Linked DNA regions of Homo sapiens: region 2 is linked to region 1. Evidence: promoter capture Hi-C in 16 types of primary human blood cells and fetal thymus (Javierre and others, 2016). All regions are on one chromosome and are shown on one strand. The core of a region is centred on a gene start or on the middle of the fragment in contact, and the rest is flanking DNA. Distances in the headings are between cores, read along the strand shown. Region 1 holds the start of VASH2 (vasohibin 2). Region 2 overlaps LINC01740 (long intergenic non-protein coding RNA 1740).

Evidence for each region. The method cuts DNA at HindIII sites, captures the fragments that hold promoters and counts their contacts. A CHiCAGO score of 5 or more calls a contact.
Region 2: a contact is called between a fragment that was not itself captured here and the fragment with the promoter of VASH2 in region 1, in 1 of 17 cell types (fetal thymus). The highest score is 5.1, in fetal thymus.

Annotation. Positions count from the first base shown.
Region 1 is chr1:212,949,289-212,955,575 of GRCh38, forward strand. It overlaps VASH2 (vasohibin 2), which reads left to right and starts at 1,253. Exons shown (of 8, transcript NM_001301056.2): 1 at 1,253-1,452; 2 at 2,051-2,530. The coding sequence starts at 2,255. RefSeq lists enhancers at 1,239-1,388, 1,909-1,958, 6,113-6,162. The HindIII fragment of the contact is 4,785 bases long and covers 1-1,860 here.
Region 2 is chr1:212,552,519-212,558,136 of GRCh38, forward strand. LINC01740 (long intergenic non-protein coding RNA 1740) reads left to right here. Exons shown (of 3, transcript NR_125985.1): 2 at 1,894-1,930; 3 at 3,325-3,548. Among named protein-coding and RNA genes, the nearest start is that of LINC01740, 9.6 kb to the left of the region's middle. The HindIII fragment of the contact is 213 bases long and covers 2,759-2,971 here.

The DNA of each region.
Region 1 (6,287 bases), core at 3-2,502:
TATTCTCATTATTGAATCTATAAAGTTCTTGGCATGGGCTCTGTCTCAGGGAGCAGTGCAGGGCTAAGTCCAGAATCCAGGTCTCCTCACCCAAGCCCTGGCTCTCAACTACCCCTCAGGGGTCTCTGCCCTCCTGTGGAAGAGAAGTTCCAGTTCCATGACAGGCAACTTGTCAGGATAAGCATCCAGAAACTGACCCGCCATCAGTGGCACTTTGACAACTGTCTTCTTAATTCAAGGTTCACTTAGCATAGGTCTCATAACTGCTTTGCTCAGAGCTGGCCTGCTGGCCTGCAGTTTAAAGAGAAAGGATGCTATGGCCAGGATCCTCAGTGTCACAAGAGAGGAAGTCAGGGAATCACAGAACCTTACAGCCAGAACAGACCCTGGAGAGCGGGAGGTCTGCTCTCCTTTCAGAAAGAGAAGCTAAGGCCCAGAGCAGGGAAGTGGCTTGTCCAGGGTCACACAGCTGAGCAAAGTGACAAACCTGGACCAGGAGCCAGCCTTCAGGTCAGCAGTCTGGTGCTCTTCCCACCTCAACCTGCTCTCCTCTTTCTTAAAGAAAAAGAAAGAGAAGGTGTTTCAGTAGTGAGTGTGGGATAGCCACCCACTTCACCATGGTTTGGAAGCATCTCTCCATCCCTCCTCTCACTCAACAGCTGTGGCAGAACAGTCAGGGCCTGCCTGACCTCTTGAGTTTTATTGTCTCCTCTCAACTTGGGCTTAAAGGGACTTTATTAACCATGACTAATACCAGAGGATCCAAAGCTGCACCCACTTGTTAATTTTGAGGAATTTTTAAATGCGGGATTTAAAAAAGATTTAATTTCACGCATAGGTATGAACAGCCCCTCATCATCCCAGGTAGAGGATGAACAACTCATCATCCCGGGTAGAGGCAGGTAAGTGTGTCCAGCGTCCCTCAGGGAATGCTCTTCTGATGCCAAACCCTCTGCTTCCGCGGGGTCACTTCTCGGGTGGTTTTGTTTCTCCTCTGCTTCCACAGTTGCAAACCCTCGAAGTGCCACGACCCCTGGGGAAACTCGATCTTAAGTCCCATGGCCAAACGCTCCAGCCCGCGGGGCTCTCAGGACACCACAGCGATCGGATTTCGCGTGGCCGCCAGGCTCCCCCTACTCCTGTCCCCTCCCGCCAGAGAACCCCTGGAGCCAATCAGAGCGTCGCGGAGCCCGGGGTTGTAGAGTCCCGAGCCCGGGACCCGCCCCTCTTTGTTGCGGTGGCCAATAGACGCATTCGGAACATCGGCGGCTGCCCGGGTGACTTGGTTATATGTCACAGAATAACATTCGAGAATGGGACATGGAATGAGGCGACGGCCCCAGCAAGCCCCAGCAGCCCCAGCCCCAGCCCCAGGCCCAGCAGCAGCAGCAGCAGCCCCTGCTCTCCCGCCGCCCGGAGAGGCTCTGCAGCCATGAAGCCAACCGTCCCGAGGTAGGATCTTGGAGCTGCCGCGCGCCCTTCCTGCGCGCCGCCCGCCTGCAGCCAGTCCCTCCCGGTGATAGGCGCTGGAACTCGGGGAAAAGGGGGCGGATGGAGCTCTTTCCACTAGATCCCCGCCGGGGTCCGGGAGGGCTTCCTGGAAGAAAGCGGGCCGCCTTGCAAGCCAAGGCTGCTGCAGCGCCCTCGCGCCAGCTCTGGGCGCTCACATGCCAGCACGTTCGTGGCTCCCCTCCTCTCTTGGCCACATCTGAGGACCCAGGAATGTGTGGAGCCTTGCGGGAACCTCCTGTTCCTTCATGCTACACAAGCTGTCTTTCTTCTCCCCACATCTTGCGCTCCGCATCCCCCAAGCTCCTTGTGCCCCTCCATCCCCAACCCCCCGGGTTTAGGTGTGTGTGAAGCTTCGTGGCACATTTTGAGCTGCCTTTCTAGGTAATCGCAGGGCTGGAAGCCCGTCATCGATTCTCAGGGAGGCTGTCAGCGTGCAGGGGGGAGCGGGGAGTGTCGTGGAGACACTCCGGGACCCCTCACTCGGTTCCGCTGTGCGTCCACTTAGCTGTGGTGTCAGCTGTGTCTCCGCTGATTTCAGGCACCGCCGGTAAGCAGGGAGCCTCCGCGGAGCTCCCGCCGCCGCTCCCCCTTGGTGAGTCCTGCCGCAGCGAGAGGCATGGAGAAGGCCGCCCCCGCGGGGCGCTGATCCCCTCGCCGCGCCCGCGCGCACACGCCCCCCGCCGCCGCCGCCGCTGCCGCCGCCGCGCGCCCCCAGTACCTCGCTCCCCGCCCAGGCCCCACCATGACCGGCTCCGCGGCCGACACTCACCGCTGCCCCCACCCCAAAGGCGCCAAAGGCACCCGGTCCCGGAGCAGCCACGCGCGGCCCGTGAGCCTCGCCACCAGCGGGGGCTCAGAGGAGGAGGACAAAGACGGCGGGGTGCTGTTCCACGTCAACAAGAGCGGCTTCCCCATCGACAGCCACACCTGGGAGCGCATGTGGATGCACGTGGCCAAGGTGCACCCTAAGGGGGGAGAAATGGTGGGCGCCATCAGGAACGCCGCCTTCTTGGCAAAGGTCAGTGGCTTCCAGGGCGGAGTTGGGGGGCTGGGGGTAGGTAGGCAGCGATGGGACCGTTTCAGCCTATACATAGCAAACACAGGCAATCTCCATTTTCCTAGTCCTGCTACAAACTCCCTTCCTCTCCCCATTCCTTCCTGCCAGCCCTTTTCTAATTGAGATATTTAGATTGGAAGCCTAAGAAATGGGGAAGGGAGAGGTAGCGGGCTTGCTATCCTGGGACTGTGTAATTGGATTGTGCCAAGGTGTCTTTGAAGCTCCAGCCAAACTCTATTATTTACTCACCCCCACATACATCCTCCTTCAGCAAAAGCTAGAGCCACCAGGTACCAGCGATGCCAAAGAATGCACAGACCCCAGGGATCCCACCCTGCTTGTTCTCTTTGGAGTGTCTTGCTCCTCCTCTGCTCCCCTCTTCCCCCAGCAAATGATTTATTAAGCTGTGAATGAATTTGAAATCAACCAGTCAGACTTCTCAGTGTGAATAATTTCCAGACTTTTTGCCAGTTTTTTTTCTTTTCTTTCTGGTTTTTTTGTGTGTGTGTGTGTGACAGTGACTTTCACCTCTGAAACTTGCAAAACGGTGAACTCTCTCTCTCTCTTCCCAGCTTATTTGTGCTCCAAGAAAAAAGAAAGACTTTTGGCTGAGACTTAAAAGGGACTTTCCAGTACACATGATGAATTAGTCTCACTGGATAGAAAAAGAGGATGAGGAGTGAAACTCTCTTTTTGCCTTGGAGAGAAGCCAGTGAGCCATTTGGGTTTGGTGGCTAAGGATATCTTTACCGAGGGAGGGAGATGTACCCTGGTGGGAGTAGATACGTTATATGAAACATCAAAATGCAAACTGGGGAGAAATGCTGCCGAGCCTCGGGGTTATAGCGTGGCGGATGGTTTCCCCTGGACCCTGGGGACGCTGGTACGGCTGAGAAGATTCCTGGGCAGGTCTAGGAATGCCAGACTTGAGACCCGGAAGGCCATCTGGTTGATTCCCCAGCCTGGTGACAGCTGAGCATCTGAGCCTGCAGGCCAGAAAGCTGTGTGTGTCCTTGGAGAAGTGACAGAGCCTCTAAACTTCCTGCTGCAGTCAGTTACAGTGTTCTATTACTCTGCTGGTCAAGGAGATCTTCATTGTGCCCAACTAGAATCTTGCCTGCTTTAGTGTCAACCATAATTACCCTTGCTGAGTTCTTGAATATGAGAACAACCTTTGTTCCTGGTTTGCAGTTCTGACTTGAGAATTTTTCCTCCAGTGAGGAGCCGAGAGCCCTTAAACTTGGAAGAAAAGTGACCACAAGGAAAAAAACGCCTGTTCCTACTGTCCCATGCTGCCTTTCTTAGTAGCACCCGTACCAACCCTGCCTCTAATTGTGCTTTTATCCTTCCTCCAACCATGTATGCGGGTGCGCGGGGGGGGGTGCATTCTCTATGTGGGAATCATGGAATTTTGCTGTTTGTAGAGACCAGTCTCCCACCTCTCAACAGAATCCCCTCCTCTTTCTGAAGACCTCTTGGGAATGGGGAGCTTGCTGCTTCCCAGGGCAGCTGATCTTAGGCCTGGCCAGAGTCGATTGTTAGGAAGCTCTTAGACCAACCATAAATCCTCCTCGCAGCACCCTCCCACCCGCAAATCACATTTCATCACTGATTGTTGTGTTCCTCTTGCCTTTTGAATCAGGGCAGAGCATTGTCAACTTCCTTTGCTACTCACAGCACCCTTGAATGTTATGAGAGAGTGCTCTTAGGATGGAAGGGACTTGGAGTAAAAATCAAGGAACTGAATCCTAGTCTTGGTTGTATGACATCTAGCCTTGTGCCTCACTTAAGTGAGGTCATTCACTTAAAATCTCTGTCCTTAGTTTTCTCATCTATAAAATGGGAATAGACCAGACTTTGTAAGTTCTTTCCAGCTCTAAAATCTCATGATGTTATGACCCGTGAGTCTCCAGGTCACTAATGCTGATCTGTGTGATGCTAGAGGTCTGCTAGACTATGAGCCCTCAGGACTGTGACTTTTTCTATCATTCTGCTTCTGCTTCTTCCTTTGGCCTTCTTTGTCCACAGATAGCTCCTTTTGCCCTTTTTCTTTTCTTTTTTCTTATTTTGGAGACAAGGCCTTCCTCTGTCACCCAGGCTGGAGTGCAGTGTGTGATCATGGCTCACGGCAGCCTCAACCTCCCAGGCTCAAGCAATCCTCCCACCTCAGCCTCCTGAGTGTAGCTGGGACTACAGACACGTACCACCCAACCTGGCTAACTTAAAAAAAAATTTTGTAGAGACAAGCTCTCACCGTGTTGCCCAGACTGGTCTCAAACTTCTAGGCTCGAGCGATTCTCCCTCACTGGCTTCCCAAAGTGGTGGGATTACAGGTGTGAGCCACCGCATCTGGCCTTTTGCCCTTTCTTATATGTCATAGCTCCCAGACCAACTCACCCTCCTCCTTCTGAGACAATTCCTAGTTTGTCAGTAGTCATTTGCAAGCACATATGAAACACAGGCTTCTAAATCATGTCTGAGCAGTTTAGAACACAGACTGCTACTTCCTGAGACCTGTACCTGATTTTTCCATTATTGTAGCTGAATGCTGTGTTCTTAAGAAAGTGTTACCTTTTCTTTTGAGATGGAGTCTTGCTCTGTCACCCAGGCTGGAGTGCAGTGGTGCGATCTCGGTTCACTGCAACCTCCACCTCCCGGGTTCAAGCAATTCTCCTGCCTCAGCCTCCTGAGTAGCTGGGATTACAGGCACATGTCACCATGCCCAGCTATTTTTTGTATTTTTAGTAAGATGGAGTTTCACCATATTGGTCAGGCTGGTCTCGAACTCATGACCTCATGATCTGCCCACCTCGGCCTCCCAAAGTACCGGGATTACAAGTGTGAGCCACTGCGCCCAGCTGGTCTTCCCTTTTTTACACAGTGGCCACATCATATTGTACTTTTCATAGTAACTAGAAGGTTACGCGAAAACTGCTTCCAAGCCAGGAATCCCCAGCCCAAATGTGGACAGTCAGCTTTTTGGCCCTAAATATAAAGAACTTAACATTTCTCTCACATTGCATCTTAATGGTTGGTTCTCTATCCCCAGTCCTATCATGGTATCTCCCCTGGTCCTGACATTCCCCAAGCCCTGACCCCTGCCTAGGCCTTAACATGGGAAGAGCCTCAAAAGCTCCCTTTTCCAGGGGCCACTCCTCTCGGATTAGAGGGTTGTTTCTGTGCTCAGCATGGCAGACTCTTTCCTCTGGGGTCAAGTCCTTTTCTCCATCAACCAAATCAATATCTTACTGAGGAATTTGTACAGAAGAAGGGTGGTAGGGTGGCGGCGGTGGTAAAAGCTTGGCAGGCTTCAGGGGGATTAACCATTTTTGGCCATTGAATGTAGACTAAGAAGCAAAAGAAGTAGATGGGGGAGGTTTTCAAGGGCCTGCATGGAGGACTAAATGACACTTCATTTGACTACAGGACATTCCCTTAGCAGCCATGGTAACTTCTGCCTGAAGGTCCAGATATCCCCATCTTGCAGGGATTCCCCTGCTTTGAGATCCTCCTTCTAAATTTGTGACTGCAGGCCTCTCCCCTGGAGGTTGTTGAGTCTGAAGTTAGCAGTTGACGAGGTCAAAGGCAGGATTTTTCAGAAAGACTTTAAGGAAACAGCAAGAGTCAGTTGGAGGATAATAGCAGATGGGAAGCGAGGCTCAGAGAGAGTGGCCAGCCCAGAAGAAAACAGTGGGCATTCTAGGAAAATTCTAGGACA
Region 2 (5,618 bases), core at 1,615-4,114, 400 kb before region 1:
ATAGTTGTGTGGGTAGGGTGGCCTTAGGTAGAGGAGGACAGCCACTGCCAAACCAAGGTTGGCAGAGAGGGAGCCCCAAACTCAGTCTGCTCTGTTTGCCCCAGTGTAGAGAAATTTTATTATAAAAGCCAAAAGACGGAGATTACAATGAGCAGCCTAGCTAATAATCATATAGGGCAATAATCAGGCAGGCCAATCAAGAAAAGGGCCAATCAAGGACCAGGCCCCAGTGGCTCATGCCTATAATCCCAGCACTCTGGGAGGCGGAGATAGGTGGATGACTTGAGTTCAGGAGTTCGAGACCAGCCTGGCCAAATGGCGAAACCCTGTCTATACTAAAAATACAAAAGTTAGCCAGGCATGGTGGCAGGTGCCTGTAATCCCAGCTGTTTGGAAGGCTGAGGCAGGTGCCTGTAATCCCAGCTGTTTGGAAGGCTGAGGCAGGAGAATCCCTTGAACCTGGGAGGCGGAGGTTGCAGTGAGCCAAGATCATGCCATTGCACTCCAGCCTGGGTGACAAGAGCAAAACAGTTTCAAAAGAAAGAAAGAAAGAAAGAAAAGGGCAAGGGTCCCTTGACTCAAGTCCACTACCGGAATGGGTAAAATGACCAGCGGGTAAAGAAAAGAAAGATCTTCAGAGTCAATGGTTTTGGGGAAAGATGAATGAGTCCTTAGATGAATAGATGATGGTTTGTGACAAGGTCTGGGTGTGGTGGACTTCTGGCCTCCTCTCCTGTGATAAGAGTTAATCATCAGAGGTTTGGTAACAATTGACTTCATCTTGCAGGATGTGTCTTTAGGCATATGGAGGGAAACTCAGAGAACCTCTCCATTTTGAAATTTTTCAAGTGCCTTTAGCTCAAAGTAATCAATATACAAAAAAATATATATACCAATATACATATTTTGGGGTGGCATTTCCTGAACTCCTTCAATGGTGCTGGGGTTCAGAAACCAACACCCTAAAGTATGGCACTTTAACATGCTGAACTTCAGATGAAGCCTCTCAAGGTCTCTCTGGCATGCCCCACCCCTCTCCGCACTCTCTCCCAGAGCACAAGGCCAATCTGTTCTCTGAAGTTCCCTGATCTGCCTAAAGTTTGGGTCCACCAAAGAAGAAAACAATTACCTGTGGTCCCTTCCCTGAGTTTTCAGTAACTGAACTCATATCACAGGAAGAAAAACTGAAGTTTGTCAACAAATTTGGACAGACTTTTGTCACAAACCATTGTCTGCTCTGCGGGCCCAACAGACTTTGTCTCAGGCCATTGTATGTTCCTCACGCCTACTGAATTCCCCAAAATTCATTTACTACTACCCTAAAATCATCCACACTTCCCCATCTCCCTTTCTCCTAAGAAGAAGGGTATATACAAGCATCTGTGTCCCATTGCATGGTGGCGTAATCACTCTATGATAGTTCCCCTATGCATGCTAATAAGTTTGTATGCTTTTTCTCCCATTAATCTGCCTTTTGTAAGTTGATTTTCTCCTTATGAAAAGAGAAATATTAAGCTAATTGGGCTTACTTGGTATATTAAATTATACGGGAAGCATTGCCAAATAAGAAGTAAGGCTAAACCTTCTTTGGATTATATTTGTATGAATGTGTTATTAACATATTTCAGAAATTGTGTGAAATTCATAGAAATTTGATAGTTCTGGAATAACATTATCAGTCATAATTCTGGTTACTATCTTAAAATGTTGCATGCAACAGAAATAACCAAATTCCCTTCTCAATTGTGTTATCATCGTAATGAACTCTCATCAGATCTTTAACTATGAACATTTGAAGTCTTGTTATTCTCAGCTGGCAATTGTTTACTGTGGTCTATCTTTTTTCTTTCTCCCCTGTTTCCTTATGTCCTAATTACTTCCTTTTCCTTGCAGGAAAATCCATGGAACCATAATCTATGGATGGCTTTAGGTAAGGCTTATGCTCTAGCAAAAAACCAGAGCAACTGTTAGGCTTATGAAGATAAGCTAGTTTCCACTGAGGAATGATTCCAATGGGGTTCTTGAGGGCTCACTCTTGGCAGTAGTAGTGTATCAGTCATATGGAATTTGAAACCAATCCATAAATTGGGGAAAAATCCTGGACTTTGTGGCTAACCAGAACTCCCAGAGGTTCAAACGGGCAGAAGTCATCCTTTGAGAAAGGTGGATGATGGCATATATACTTTTTTTTTTTTTTTCTGAGATGGAGTCACCCAGGCTGGAGTACAGTGGGGCAATCTCGGCTCACTGCAACCTCTGCCTCCTGGGTTTAAGCAATTCTCTGCCTCAGCCTCCCGACTAGCTGGGATTACAGGCGCGTGCCATCACGCCCGGCTAATTTTTGTATTTTTAGTAGAGACGGGGTTTCATCATTTCGGCCAGGCTGGTCTTGAAGTCCTGACCTCGTGATCCACCCGCCTTGGCCTCCCAAAATGCTGGGATTACAGGCATGAGCCACTGCGCCCAGACAGCATATGTTTTAAGAAAAAACATTTACTGGAACATCATGTGGACTTAGAGCTTCTTTTCGCCCAAATTGGAGGCTTGTATATAGTATTGACAAAACTGAATATTGTGCCTGTCTGTCCCCTAATTTTGTTACTAGAGGAAGCTTAACTAAAAACAAAGGTGAAACTGCTGTTTCTTTAGACACTGCCATCAAATACATGAAGGAAATTTCTTAAGGGAAAGGAACACATGCTGTGTCCATGGCAGCAGCTAACAGTTGGTTTGCAGGAATCCTGAGTGGTGGATGGCAAGCTTGGCTTTTCCAGGGTTTTCTAATCTATGTTCTTCTAGTGGGTCTCCAGGTTACTAAGGCTTGTGTTATCAAGTTAATGACAAAATTGGATACTTATTTAAATCAGATCATTCTATAGCAAGCTGTGGTCCTTAATTTCCATCACACTTTGAATAAGGATTATGGCCAAATGGACTCAAATACTGTTAAGCTGCCTATATTACTTACCTAAGCTTTGACTTGTTTGATTTGGATCAATTTGGTCCCTCAGGGCTCCTGTTAAGGAATACGCTTCATTTTTTGGTGTTATCCTAAATACCAAATCCTATCTAACAGTCATCATGATAGTCCCCTGCTGTGCTGTATCCTCTCAAGTCTTAAATGTTAGTATGCAGCCATCCATTGAGCACTGAATGATCTCACTTTGACTAAATCAGCAAGAACATAATTATTCGACTGATGTGATAACTTGTGAATTCCATATTGAGACCAAGTAAGTCCATTTATGATGGTGACAGACAGTGGCATGAATCAGACATGTTTTTAGAAAGTTTTATTAATTTTATTTAAAATTTTATTTTCAGGAATGGGATTGACTGCAAAGGAGCACAAGGGAACTTCCTGGGGTGATGGAAATGTTTTGTCTTGATTGTGGTAATGATTACATGACTATGTTTGTCAAAATTCCAGAACTTTATACCTAAAAGGGTGAATTTTACTGCATGTAAATTATACCTAAACACATGACTTTTTAAAAAGGCCTGAAATCTTAACTACTCAGCTAAAAATAAAATAAAATAAAATAAACAATTTAGGTGCAAAACAAGTTTTGTTTTTGGGACTGACAGAGGTCCAGTGATTGTATTTATTTATAAAGCTAATAATCCAATCCAATATATCAATATCAATACTTTTAAATAGGATATAAAAAGTTATGAGATTTTTTAAAATAAGGATTTAGACTGCAAAATATTATGACTACAATGTTCCTGAAGCAACACTATCTTAAAAAATATCTCAAACAGAAAATAACACTCTAATGCTCTCAATCATTGCAATAATTGAAACTTCCAGAATATTACCATAATGCTGCTTATATTACATACCCAAAGCCCTGTATTTAATAGTTAAAAACAAAGAATTATTTAATACCAGCTAGCTTCATTACTTGATAGATTAACTTGCTTGACAGATCAACATTACTTGATAGATTACTGGATAGATCAACTAGCTTCCTAAAACATAACTGTAGCTCAGCTTCTAAAAAAGGTGAAAGAAATTATTATATTCAACTGAACTAGATTTTAAAAATAAAGACTATCAAGAACATAGGAAGAGGTAATTAAATGACGGGTCCTCTCTACTAAGGTTTCAATAGAAGCAAATACATCCGAGAAACCATTTACAAAGAACTCACCCTCATAATTGCCTTAGAGACCAAAGTCACAATTTTAAGGCCAAGATCTTTAGAAATCAGATAGGTCAGTGTGACGGTTAATTCTGTGTCAAACTTGACTGGATTATGGGGTGCCCAGATATTTTGGTCAAACATTATTCTGGGGTTATCTTTGTAAGGGTGTTTTGGATGAGACTAACATTTAAATTGACAGACGAAAGCAGAGTGCCTTCTATAATGTAGGTGGGCTTTATCCAATCATTTAAAGGCCTGAATAGAATGAAAAGTTTGACCCTCCCCAAAGTGAGTGAATTCTTCCTACTTTTGAACTGTGACATGGGCTTTTTCCTGCCTTTGGACTTGGACTAGAACTACACCATCAGCTCTCCTAGGTCTCAAGCTTGCTTACTCACCTTGCAGATCTTGGGACTTGCCAGCCTCCATCACTGCATAAGTCAATTCCTTATAATAAATCATATATGTGCACACACAGGCATGCCTCAGAGATATTGCAGGTTTGGTTCAAGACCACTGCAGTAAAGTAAATATCACAGTAAAGGGATCCACACAAATTTGTTGGTTTCTCAGTGCATATATGTTATGTTTACACTACACTGTAGTCTTAAGTGTGCAACAGCATTATGACTTTAAAAAAAGTACACACCTTCATTTAAACATATTTTCTTGCTAAAAAAATGCTGACAGACATAAAGTGAGCACATGCTGTTGGAAAAAACGGTACCAACGGTACCAATTTGTAAATAACACATTATCTGCAAAGTGCAATAAAGTGAGACACAATAAAATGAGGTATGCCTGTATATCCTATTGGTACTGTTTCTCTGGAGAATCCTAATACAACCTGCTTTCAAATCAATTTAAGACCCTCCCCCCATAAGCATTACATTGAGGAAAATGTGGTTGCAACTTTGTCCTACAAATTAGGACAAAGAGACCTTTGTTGCCATATAACAATATTAAAAAACCAGTATGCCTACCTCTGGATGTATTTGCTACAAATACCAGTATTAGATTGTAATTGCCAATCCTTTAAAACCAGTTTTAAGATGGATATAAAGCCCTAAAAATCTTGCAGCTTCCACATGCACATCTGAAAAACTTCCAATTTACAAAGGACATTGTGGTATTTTTGGAAAACAAAGGAAAATGACACATACTAATTTCTGTCATTTATTCACGTCATAATCCCCAAAGCTACCTTTATTCCACGACTCTTTCCACCATTTTCCTACAGTCAGCTTTTTTTAAGGCTATAGCCTTTAAAAACTTGAAACAGAAAATTTTAAGGATGCAACCATTAGAAAATGTTCCCATACTACCATTTAACATTCCCCATTTATCATTATGTTTACTATCGTGTAATTTCCAACATAATATTATGAGGTCAAAGGCTCTACGAACGCCGTTTTACAATCTACCTAGGGAGGCAATGGCTGTGAAACACACCACACCAATGACAGG